4 separate regions of the Homo sapiens genome follow, and all the other regions are linked to region 3. Evidence: promoter capture Hi-C in human tissues and cell types (Jung and others, 2019). All regions are on one chromosome and are shown on one strand. The core of a region is centred on a gene start or on the middle of the fragment in contact, and the rest is flanking DNA. Distances in the headings are between cores, read along the strand shown.

Region 1 (2,724 bases), core at 63-2,562, 420 kb before region 3:
TACTTGAGTCGCTGAGGCAGGAGAATCACTTGAGCCCAGGAGGTCAAGGCTACAGTGTGCTGTGATCACACCACTGCATTCTAGCCTGAGCAACAGAGCACAACCCTGTCTCTTAAGAAAAAAATATAAAAGTATATAGAAACTTCATAAACATCCCACAATTCTTTATTTTAAAAGCTAAAGTAACGTATTTTACATGACGTATCTGAATGTTGTTAGAATCCCAAAAAACCCAGAGTTAAGCTTTATTCTGATCGAATGAGATAAAACATACTTTACTGCCTTGCTTTGCCTCACTAATGAAGAGAATCTTCAGGCAACCCCATGGAGAGGGGCTGTCTGGCCTCACTGTCTGGAATATCCGGGTCAAGAAATGTGTACAGAAGGCATGCTTCACAAGCCCATGGCCACGAGGCGCTTACAGTGATGGGGAGCTCAGCAATATAAGCAAAGGACAACAGTAACAGTGTGGGAGGTGCTACCATCCAGGTGGGAACGGACAGCAGACGAGGACACAGGAAGAAGGGCCTGACTCTGGGTGTGCCACTTGCGGAGGAAGGCTCAGCAGACCAGGTGACCTCAGAGCTCACCCAGGAGGACAGAGGAGCATGCCATGAATGAAAGGAAGTGAGCAAGAAGGCCCAGCCAAGCAAAGAGCCTGCGCTCAGGACCAGCAATGCAAGAAGACACGCCTCATCCAGCCAGGTAAGCAGATGCGGATGGCTGGCCTCAGGCAAGCGCAGGCCACCTCTCATGGTGAAGGACAGGGGTAGCTGCCCAGGGCTGGTAGATGCATTTCATCAGGCAGAGGAAGCTCCATCCTGTTTCTGATTTGCTGAGAGTTTTCATTCTAAATAGATGCTGGGTTTTTATCAAACGCTTTTTCTGTCTCTTGAGATGGCATACATAGTTTTCCATTTTCAGTTTGCCAATATGCAGAATTACATTTGCAGGTTTTCTCATGTTAAGCTAACCTTGCATTCCCCAGATAAACCCCAGTCCGTCAATATTTTACATAGGGTTAAATAGTAGATGCTCAATTTTTGCTTAAAATTTTTGCATCTGTGTTCAGGAGGGATATTGGTCTGTAGTGCTTTGGGTTGTACTCTTTGGGGATTTTTTTCCCCCATGATCTCTTTGCCTGGTTTTGGTATCAGAGAAATGTTGACCTCACAGAATGACTTAAGAAGTATTCCTTCATTTTTAGGTTTCCTGAAGGAAGAGTCTACATAGATTTCATATTATTTCTCCCTTAAGTGTTTGGTAAGATGCATAAGTAAGCCATCTGGCCCCAAAATTTTCTCTATGGGAAGGCGTTTTTTTTCTTTTGTCTTTTTTAAGAAGTTTTTTTTGGCTGGGCATGGTGGCTCACACCTGTAATCCCAGCACTTTGGGAGGCCGAGGCAGGCAGATCATGAGGTCAAGAGATCGAGACCATCCTGGCCAACATGGTCTCTACAAAAAATATAAAAATTAGCTGGGCATGGTGGCGCACACCTGTAGTCCCAGCTACTTGGGAGGCTGAGACAGGAGAATCGCTTGAACCCAGGAGGCAGAGGTAGCAGTGAGCCAAGATCGTGCCACTGCACCACTCTAGCCTGGTGACAGAGCAAGACTCTGTCTCAAAAAAAAAAAAAAGTTTTTTTGTTTTTTTGTTTTTTTACTTTCTAATCTTCTTTTTTGTTGACTTTTTTATTTTATTATATTTTCCATTTCAATTTTCTTTCTGAGCCCTCATGATCTCATATGGGAAGGTTTTAACAAAACATTCTGTTTCCTAAGTGGCTATGTCTATTGTGGTTGTCTATATCTGTGTGTAAGCATTGGTATTTTGTGTCTTCTAAGGAATTTGTCACATCATCTCAGTTTTCACATTTATTAGCATAAACTTTTTATAATATATTCTTATCATTTTAATATCTATAAAATCTGTGTTATGCCAACTCTCTCATTTCTAATACTGTTAATTTGTGTCTTCTCTCTGATCAATCTGGCTGGAAGCTGATGAATTTCATTAACTGTTCTCCAAAAATAAGCTTTTGGTTGCTTTGTCTATGTTGGGTTTCTGTTTCCTATTTCATTGTTTTCCACTCTGATCTTTATTATTTCCTTTTCTACTGACTTTGGGTTTAATCTACATTTTTTTTTTCTAATTTCTTAAAGTGAAGCACAACCTCTGGCTCCCACAGGAGCTTCCCATGAATGAAGCTACAGCTATTACACCTACCTGCTCAAATGTTAAGAGATAAGATGTTGACAAGGGGGAGCAGGAACCAACAGGCTCCCCAAAGCCAACCATGCACAGAGCTTAAGGGAGGCCTGGCCCCGCCTCCTGGCAAACTAGTTTCGTTAGGATTTCAAAACTGCTTTCCAGCAAGCTATAAGCAGGTGTGGAGTGTTTACAGAGCAGTATTGCACATGGAGGGTAGTAGAATCTATTCAGAGCCAGAGAGCACACCACGATAAATGGCTGCAGCCGTGCATGCTGGTGTCCGCTCCCTGACTGTTCACAGTCGTTCCAGCCACTTGGAATGCTTTATCCTCCAGGTCTCAGCTGGCTCCCACATCTCTATGCAGCTCTGAAGGCTGTGCATAAGTTGGATGCCTTCAACAGGCAAAGCCATGGGTACCTCTAGTGCCACACGGCACACAGTCCAACTCAGGGAAAAGCCTCCTGTTGCCGGGCATTTCTGCAGCCCCAGTCCGTGATGTGGGCACCAAGTT
Region 2 (2,700 bases), core at 164-2,663, 270 kb before region 3:
AAGAAAAGTAGATAGCTAAATTAGAAAAAAAAAAAGTTAAATTCTACAGCTGCTCACTCCAAAACAGTTTAGCATCTTTGAATTAAAGACGGAGAAATCTGGATGCACAGACAGTTGAAAAGTATCTCTTTTTTTAAGAGATGAGGTCTTTCTCTGTCATCCAGGCTGGAGTGTGGTGGTGCAATCACAGCTTACTGCAGTCTGGACCTCCAGGGCTCAAGCAATCAATCCTCCCATTTCAGCCTCCTGCGTAGCTGGGACTACAGTTACACACCGCCATGCCCAACTACTTTTTTTTTTCCAGTAGAGACAGGGTCTCCCCATGTTGCCCAGGCTGGTCTTGAACTCCTGACCTAGAACCATCCTCCTACCTTGGCCTCCCAAAGTGCTGGGATTACAGGTATGAGCCACTGCTCCCAGCCAATCTGTGTTAACACACACACCCTGCCAATGGCTCTGATAACCAACCACACAGACTGGCTAATCACTGCTCCAGCTGATCCAAAACTTAGACCATGAAAAAACGCATAAATGCACATTCAAACTCTGACAAAACTGCCACGCACTGAAAGTCCGTAATAGCTCACGACAGTCGGTTGGTTAACAAGTATTTACTGAGAACACAATACTGTGCAGGGCAGGTTCTCGTGCCATTGACACTCTTGTGGGAAGAGTCAGGCCTCAGCCCTGGGAAACAGCATGCTGGTGGATGCTGGGACGAACACAAACAGTAATAGTGAGGGCTGATGGGGCTGAGAGATGCTGCGTCAGCCAGGGCAGGTGGGCAAGGAGGTGACATCTGGGGTGAACCCTCGATGAGAAGGGGGCCACGCCAAACTGTAAAACGGAGACAGTAGTCGGAGTACAAGTTAAAGTTATAAGGCTTCAGTGCAATAACCCATTTAAAGCACTTCAGCAGTTTATTTATCATAAGTTCTCAATAAATGCTAGTTGCTATTAATATTATTATTCAATGAATATAATGTGGTTAACACACAGGTCAACCTTTGACTCTAGCTGTGACATGATTAATGATCCAACCTGTTCCACTGTTTCACTAAGAATGAGTCCTCCATTTTTTTAAATCCCTATTGAGATTATTTATTAAGTAAAATTACCTGCTTGTGTGTCAAAATCCCCCATTCAGGTATGACTTCCTGTACCTGAAGACTGTGCGTTACTTACTATTGCATCCCCAGGACAGGGCCTGACGTGAGACTGGGCGCTCGGCTGAGGCTGACTGGCGAGCAAACAGAACAAGAAGGGATGCCTCCTCCCTAACGCAAATAGCAGGGGCCCTTCCTTCTATCCTAACCTTTCTCTGTTTGCCCATTGATATTTGAAGACGTTGCTCCAAGGGTTCCACCGCTCACAGCCCTTCCTGAGCTCTTCCCTCAGCACTCTGCCCTGCACAGCTGACCAGTCCCTCTTCTGTATTTCCGCTGTATTTTGCACAAATTTCAGCCCACAGGAGTTATCTGGCAGGTACCATAAGGCACCTGTAATCTCATGTCTTTGTTTCTCTCATCAATCCTTAATTTCCTTGGGAGGCAGGTTTATGTCTTATCCATTCAAGTGTCCTTAATGCCTGGCAGGGTGCCTGATAACAAAGTTGGTACTTAACACACACGTGGATCAAGACGTAAGGCTGGTGAAAGGAAACCCTCCCATGTTGCGGACGTGCATACAGCTATGAAGGAGTACAGTGATGTGGTTTCTAGGATCTGCTTTAAATACTTCAACAAAAAAACCAATAAAGTAAAAATAAAGCCAATGTGGTCAAATTTTGATAATGATTTAATCTGGGCAATGGACACAATATTCTATTCTATCCTCTCTAATTTGTATATATTTAAAGTATTTCTCCATAACTTCTCATTGAAATCCTTGGAGCTGACCATACACACACTTAAAAAAAAATAAAAATAAAAATAAAAAAAACACTACTTTATATCTTAGTAGTTTATCTTCCCGACATCTTTTGGAATATAAAATGGTAGTACTTCTCATACAACTGCAGGAAAGGAGAGAAAGACGAGTCCCTGCAATATTCCACATTGTCAAAAGAAGCCAAGACCAAATGCCAAAATGAAGAAGAGATTTTTTTAAAGATTATGAAGCTGAAATCAATGTCATGACTAACCTAGCCATGAATTCAGAAAGACCCAATTTAACTAATCTCAACACTACCATATCCAGAAGGTTTTCTCACATAAGAATTGGGCAAATATCACTTTGCTGATTCTTTTAAAAATAGATAATGATCCAGTTCCTACCACGGGCGATTATGAGTAAGACCGAGTATACATTTTCTTAACAGTAAATAGTGTACAAGTCATAATTTCTATGTGGCTCAAAGTGCTCTCCCTATAAAATGTGAATTATTTTTCTGAAGGCAGATTTGCAGCATATGACCCAGTGATAAAATTTTCAATACTCTTGTAATCAAAAATTTCACCAATTTGGAGGTTTATTTTGTATATGAACTATTGCCTTTTAGCAAATCCATCTGCCTTAGCAGTCTCTTTCTTTCATAAGAGTTCCTGGGCAAAATTTAATCCCTCGTCCAGGAAAAGGCATGATCAAAAATCTTCATATACAGCAACACAAATAAGATTTAAATGATACTAAGCGGCCCCTTAAGCCGGCAAGTACACACAGCACACATCAGTGTTCCTTCCTCGACCGTCTATAACCAGC
Region 3 (2,767 bases), core at 255-2,754:
GGGGGAAAATCATTCTTCAAACTGCTGATGGCCCTCAGGGGTTGAAAAGTTGGTCAGACTCCGCCTTGTTGAAGCTTTCTAAATGACATCAGAAAAAAGACGCGACATTCGCAAGGCACAGAGCCAACAGCTCCAGCAGTGGGGGCCACCATCAACGGACCAAGGTGGGCCAGGGGGCCTTCCGGACCCCACAATTTGGGGCCGGTCTGCAGCAACGAGGGCAGCATCGGGAATGCGAGCCTCCTCGCCCGGCCGGGTAAACATAAGCCCAGAGCCCGGCGGGGCCTGCGCCGCCTGCGGCCCGGCTGGGGCCCAGCGGACAAAGGGGAGCAGGCGGTGCCCCGTCCCAGCGGCCAGGCCGGCCGAGAGAGCCAGGAGCCACGTGCCCGGTGGGAGCACGCCAAAAGCAGGAGAACACCTGACCGTTTTTTTGGCCCACCAAGGAGACCGCCTTCTACTCTGCATTTAAAAAGAAAAACAACGCGTTACCGCTTTAAGTTTTTTAGAACTTTTCCAGAGAAAGGCCGACTAGCAACAAGGGGTGCTACAGGAATCCACCTCGCCTCACCTCTCCTAGGAAATTGTAAAAGGAATTAGCACTTGAATGGGGAGGCCGGCGTGTCTGGAATGAGAACGAGCCGCGCACGCAGTTTGAGGGTTCCGGGGAGCCGCGTCCTCCCCTTTCCAGGCGACAGCCCTAACTACAGGAATTGGCCAAAATTCAGCATTTCCAGACTTTCCTTGGGAAAAGGGGCCGAAGAAGTGCCGGCAACAAGAAGGGCCACAACGGAGCGCGCCACAGACTCACCGCGGCTGGGGTCGGGACCGGCGCAGCCCCCTCCCCTCCCGCCCGTGCGCGCCCCGAGCCGGGCGCCCCGACCCGGCCTCCACCCGCTCAGGCGCTCAGGGTCAGGCCGGGCCGGGCTGCGGCGCCCCCATCCCCGCCCGGGCAGCGAGGCCGGGCCAAGCGGGGCGCTCCGGGCCTCGGGCCTACACGCGGCGGCCGCCTCGGCCCCGGCCCCAGCCCGCGGGCCCCGGGCGGGGGATGCGAGGACGCTGGGACGCGGGCCCGAGGCGCGGGAGGGGCCCAGGCCGCGCGGGGCGCCCCGACGACTCGCGGGGGCCGAGGAGGCCGGGGCTGCGCGTCCAACGCGGGGCCGAGAAAACGGCCGGCTCGGCCCCGCCGCCGCCGCTCCTCGAGCCCCCAAGCGCGGCCCCGGCTCGCCCGCCCCCGGCCCCCGCCGCCCCGACCCCGCGGCCCCCCGATCCCCGGCCCCTGCCGCCCGCGCCGGGCCCGCCAACCACGGGCAGGAGCGCGCGAACGGCCGGGCGGGCGCCCCGAGCGCCAGGACTCACCGGGGCCGGCTCCCGAGTACATGGTGGCGCCGCCGAGGGGCTCCGGGGCCGAGGGGCGGCCGCGCGCGCGCCACGGGCCCCGACGCCGCGAGCCGCGAGGGAGCCGCCGGCCGCACGATCCGCCCCGGCGCGGCCGCCTCGCCAAACAGGTTTACCCGACGCGGCCGGGGCGGCGGGCGGAGGCGGCGGCGGGAGCGGGAGCGGGAGGGGCGGGGGAGGAAGGAGGAGGGAGGGGGAGGGGAGGCGAGGCCGGCGGCGGGAGCGCGCTCGCGGGGGGAGCGGGGCTGGGCGCGCGGGCGGGGTCCGCGGCGGCGGCGGCGGCGGCGCCGGGTCTGGCGGGGCCTGGGGCGGGGACCCGGGGAGGGGCCCGGAGACCTCGCCGGGCGGTGGGAACCGCGGGCGGGAGCGGGGACGAGGGCCGAGGGCGGCGCGGCCCGTGTGGCGCGGGGGCGGGCGCGGCCCCGGGGACCCTTCACTGCCACCCAGAGAAGCCGCGTCTTCCCGACGGGGAGGAGCCGGGCCCCCCGGCTGTGCCGCCGGAGCCGGAGGGGAGGCCACGCGCCCCCGCTTTCCCCGCCGCCCCCCGGTGGGGGGCGCAGAACCCTCCCACCCTCAGCCCCTCGGCCCCCAGCCTGGCTCTTTAAGTTACTACAGAAACACGGAGGTCGGGAAGCTCCCTCCCAGCCCGGAGCTTGAACTTGAACGCGGCCGGCCGCTCGCGCAGGACCACACCGCCACCTCCCGGCGCGGCCCCAGAACCCAGATAATCCGTTTAAAGCACTGAGAAAATCTAAGAAGTTTTTAGTAAACTGTAGCTGGTATCAGGGATCAGATCAGCGGACACGCCCATTCCAGCAGTCAGGGGCCTGCTCGGACCGTCGTGCACCTCCGAGCGTTTCTGTCCGGTCCCTCTGGGTCCGTCTGGTTTTCGGAGGCTTTCCTGGAAAAGCCAGCCTGTGGCTACCTCCTTTCTCCCCTAAGTGATGGAGGATTAGAAGGCAGAGGTTGACCCACAATCTAAAGTGCCTGGTCGCCTTTTCCCAGATTTCCCGGAGCATTCCTTCACCCCGTGGCATCGGCTGTCTGCATATGGGTGCAAGGCCCTGTTCCGGGCGGAGAATAAACAGGAGTTCTGACTGACAGGAGCTCCGCAGCCAGCAGGGTGGTCACTAGTTCTCTGCAGTCTCGGAGGACAGCCCTGAAGAAGGGCAGGAGAACCAGCACTTCCTCCGAAAACTCAAAAGGACATCAGTCTTCACCAAGTTGCCGATACAAAACGTGCTCCTGAAATGTGTAGTAATGAACACCAGGAAACCTGGGTAGGAGTGTGCATGGCATTCTTCATCACCGCTTGGACTGCATGGCACTGAATACCCACGGAGAGCAGGATGGAGAAACAGTGTGCTCATAT
Region 4 (2,700 bases), core at 23-2,522, 330 kb before region 3:
CTTCTTCCTAAATTGGAGGTACAGGAATTAAGAGTAGAAATAAAGAAACAGAAGGAGAAGAAAGCACTGGATATCAAACACAGAGCGCCGCGGTTGCGCAGGCCTCCCGCTCACACTCCTCGGAGGCCCCGGCAGTCGCCAAGCAGCGGCCAGCCTCCAGGCCCTCAAGGTTCTGTCACAGGACGTGTGGGCTCAGCCGGCAGTGGTCCCCAGTGACTGGCAGTCACAATCTCCTGCAAGGGGCCTCGGGCATGTCTTTGTGGCAGCAAGGGATGGGGAGCTTGGCACTACAGCCGGGCTTTGGGAAGGACACCAAGGGACAGGGCCGGTGGTGCATGCTGAGCCCTGGTGCAGGAGGGACGAGAGCTCAGACACAGGAAAGCTCAGGAGAGATTGTCCACTCCCAGTCTCTCCCACAACACAGCTTAACCCAGGACTGACTATCCTGATCACCTGTGTTCACAAAAGAACATAACACGATTACCTCACCCTCCACTCAGTCCTGAACACCATCCAACCCTGAATCTTTCTCTGATGACTCAGAAGTCACTTCAGCCCTTGTAAAATCAGTCTACATCTCCAACTGTCACTCTTCTGTAGTTCACATAAGTCTCAGTTAACAAAAGTCTTTCTGGTTTCCAGAACTTTCACAAAATTACCTTATATGAAATAAATTTTTTAAAATCACATCTATGGGCAATTGCCTGCCAAAAGCAGCAAATCAAATAAACTTCCATGACAGACTGCACACACGCACACACACGCACACATCTGTGCACACATCCACACATGGACACATGTAAACACACATATGCATGCACGCACGCATGCATACACACATACACGCACATATGCACGCATGCACACATACATATGCATGCATGCACACATGCACACACATATACACACATATGCATGCGTGCACACATCCACGCACGCACACACATGCACATGCATGAACTGGCTCAAAATGCTGTTCTAAAAATCTAGAAAAGCCATTGGAAATCAGGTGGCAGAGCACGGTGGGAAAGCCAGGATCGACGTCCTACCTATTTTCTTGTTCCGCTCTTCTCCACGGTTGTGTGCGATAATTGGTGAATAGATGAAAGGACTTTTGGTTGACACGTTCTGACCCAGCAAGCTTTTCATTTTGTGTGGCCGGAGGCTAGCAGGAAGGTTCAATAGTTTCACATGCCTGTTGTTTCAAACAGAACACAAATACTTCAACTGTCTGGTTAGCGTGGTTTCAGGATAAACATAACCAAACATGATGTATCAGAAAAACAGTAAATCAGTCAGAAGGAAGATAAATGGAGGGAGGAAAAGCACTCCGAGGCATCAGGACACAGCAAGGAAGTGTTGCAACAGTAACTCAAGATTCTCCCAGACAGGGGAAATCACTCCCTGGAACTGGGGGAGCAGCCACTTCCCTCTGGGGACTCCTGAACTGGGCCCAAGGATGGTCTGGAGTCAGAAAGGCCAGCTTGAAATCTCGCTTCACACTTACCAGCTGTGTGCCTTTGGGCACGTGCCTTGCCATCTCTAAGACGTAGGTTCCTTGTGTATAAAGTGCAGGTGGGGCCACCACCTTCCCCATGGACCCATGGGGAGGATCCAGCTAAAGACTCCTGGCACAGGGCCCACTGCCTGGCCCAGGATGGCTCTTCTCTCTCTGCCTCTCCCTTTCCCAAGGGACCTGCCCACAGCAAGTGGCAGCCAGACTCTGACCCATGGGAAGAGATGGCACCCATGAGAAGGTCAACAGCACCCTCTGCTCTACTCGCATGCAGCAGCATCTGTATCTGTCATCGCTTCCCACAGTATCCCAGCTGTGGATGTCTGCCAATCTGTACTCATGCTCGAATTCATCCAGCTAGCATTAAGATAAATTTACCAATCCATGGAGTCTGAGCATGAGCAGGCACTGTGCTAACCACTGCATATGTATTCTCTCACTTAAACATCACAAACACCTTCTTAGTTTGGGTACTATTACTATTGTCTCCATGTCATCAATAAGGAAACTCACGCAAGAGGGACTAAGTATACTGTCGCAAATCCGATGGCTGGAAAGCAGTAACAACAGGTGACACTATGCTCTTAAACCACAGTACTAGAAGGTGCTGTCACCCTTGTGACCAGTTTGGGAAGACGGTGGTTAAGATCTGGAACACTCCTGGACGTCAGACAGAAAGGACAAGGAGCAGAGGTGGGAAAACAGGAAGACTGATAGTGACACTGATCGTGATAAATCTACGTGCTCCCCACCCCCCGCCTCCCGGCCTCCGCAGGAAGGTGAGGCCACCTGAGGAGCTCTGGCCAGTAGGTTGTGAGTGGGAGCCACCGAGGCCTCTGTGAGACACACACTTTAGAGTGACGGGCCAGCCCCCAGCTCTCTCCTTCGGCTGCACGGCCATGGTGATCCTGGAGGCTGGACATTGAGAAGGTGGAGCACCAGACAGATGCGGCCTGGAGCACTCAGCAACCTCCCAGAGCTCAGCTGCCCTGGAGAGCCACCCAACCCACACCAAACTTGTGTGAGGGAGGTAGAAACTGTTGTTACAGTAAATCACGAAGATTTCAGGGTTAATTTTTCTGCCACAGTGCACCCTAACCTATACTGCATAATAACAACTGCCTTACAGAATCCACAAAATCACCACCTCTCTCAGTGAGGAGGGACCTCAGATGCCTCATTCC

Evidence for each region. Contacts are between HindIII fragments. The study calls those that stand out against the background at their distance.
Region 1: a contact is called between a fragment that was not itself captured here and the fragment with the promoter of AGO2 in region 3, in 1 of the 25 tissues and cell types used here (hippocampus).
Region 2: a contact is called between a fragment that was not itself captured here and the fragment with the promoter of AGO2 in region 3, in 1 of the 25 tissues and cell types used here (mesenchymal stem cells).
Region 4: a fragment that was not itself captured here is called in contact with the fragment with the promoter of AGO2 in region 3 in 1 of the 25 tissues and cell types used here (mesendoderm cells).

What each region holds. Positions count from the first base shown.
Region 1 is chr8:140,211,447-140,214,170 of GRCh38, forward strand. The region is part of intron 17 of TRAPPC9 (trafficking protein particle complex subunit 9); the gene reads right to left. LOC124902029 (a long non-coding RNA gene) reads left to right here. Exons shown (of 2, transcript XR_007061118.1): 1 at 1-705. Among named protein-coding and RNA genes, the nearest start is that of PEG13, 110 kb to the left of the region's middle. The HindIII fragment of the contact is 6,293 bases long and covers 1-2,724 here.
Region 2 is chr8:140,360,615-140,363,314 of GRCh38, forward strand. All of the region lies in intron 8 of TRAPPC9 (trafficking protein particle complex subunit 9), which reads right to left. Among named protein-coding and RNA genes, the nearest start is that of TRAPPC9, 96 kb to the right of the region's middle. The HindIII fragment of the contact is 7,619 bases long and covers 1-2,700 here.
Region 3 is chr8:140,634,129-140,636,895 of GRCh38, forward strand. AGO2 (argonaute RISC catalytic component 2) reads right to left here and starts at 1,505. Exons shown (of 19, transcript NM_012154.5): 1 at 1,357-1,505. The coding sequence starts at 1,378. ERICD (E2F1-regulated inhibitor of cell death) reads left to right here and starts at 107. Exons shown (of 1, transcript NR_170171.1): 1 at 107-2,767. RefSeq lists an enhancer at 1-510 and silencers at 317-366, 850-1,019, 1,670-2,069. The HindIII fragment of the contact is 25,430 bases long and covers 1-2,767 here.
Region 4 is chr8:140,299,420-140,302,119 of GRCh38, forward strand. It overlaps TRAPPC9 (trafficking protein particle complex subunit 9), which reads right to left. Exons shown (of 23, transcript NM_001160372.4): 11 at 1,050-1,195. Among named protein-coding and RNA genes, the nearest start is that of TRAPPC9, 160 kb to the right of the region's middle. RefSeq lists enhancers at 1-134, 135-635. The HindIII fragment of the contact is 8,746 bases long and covers 1-2,700 here.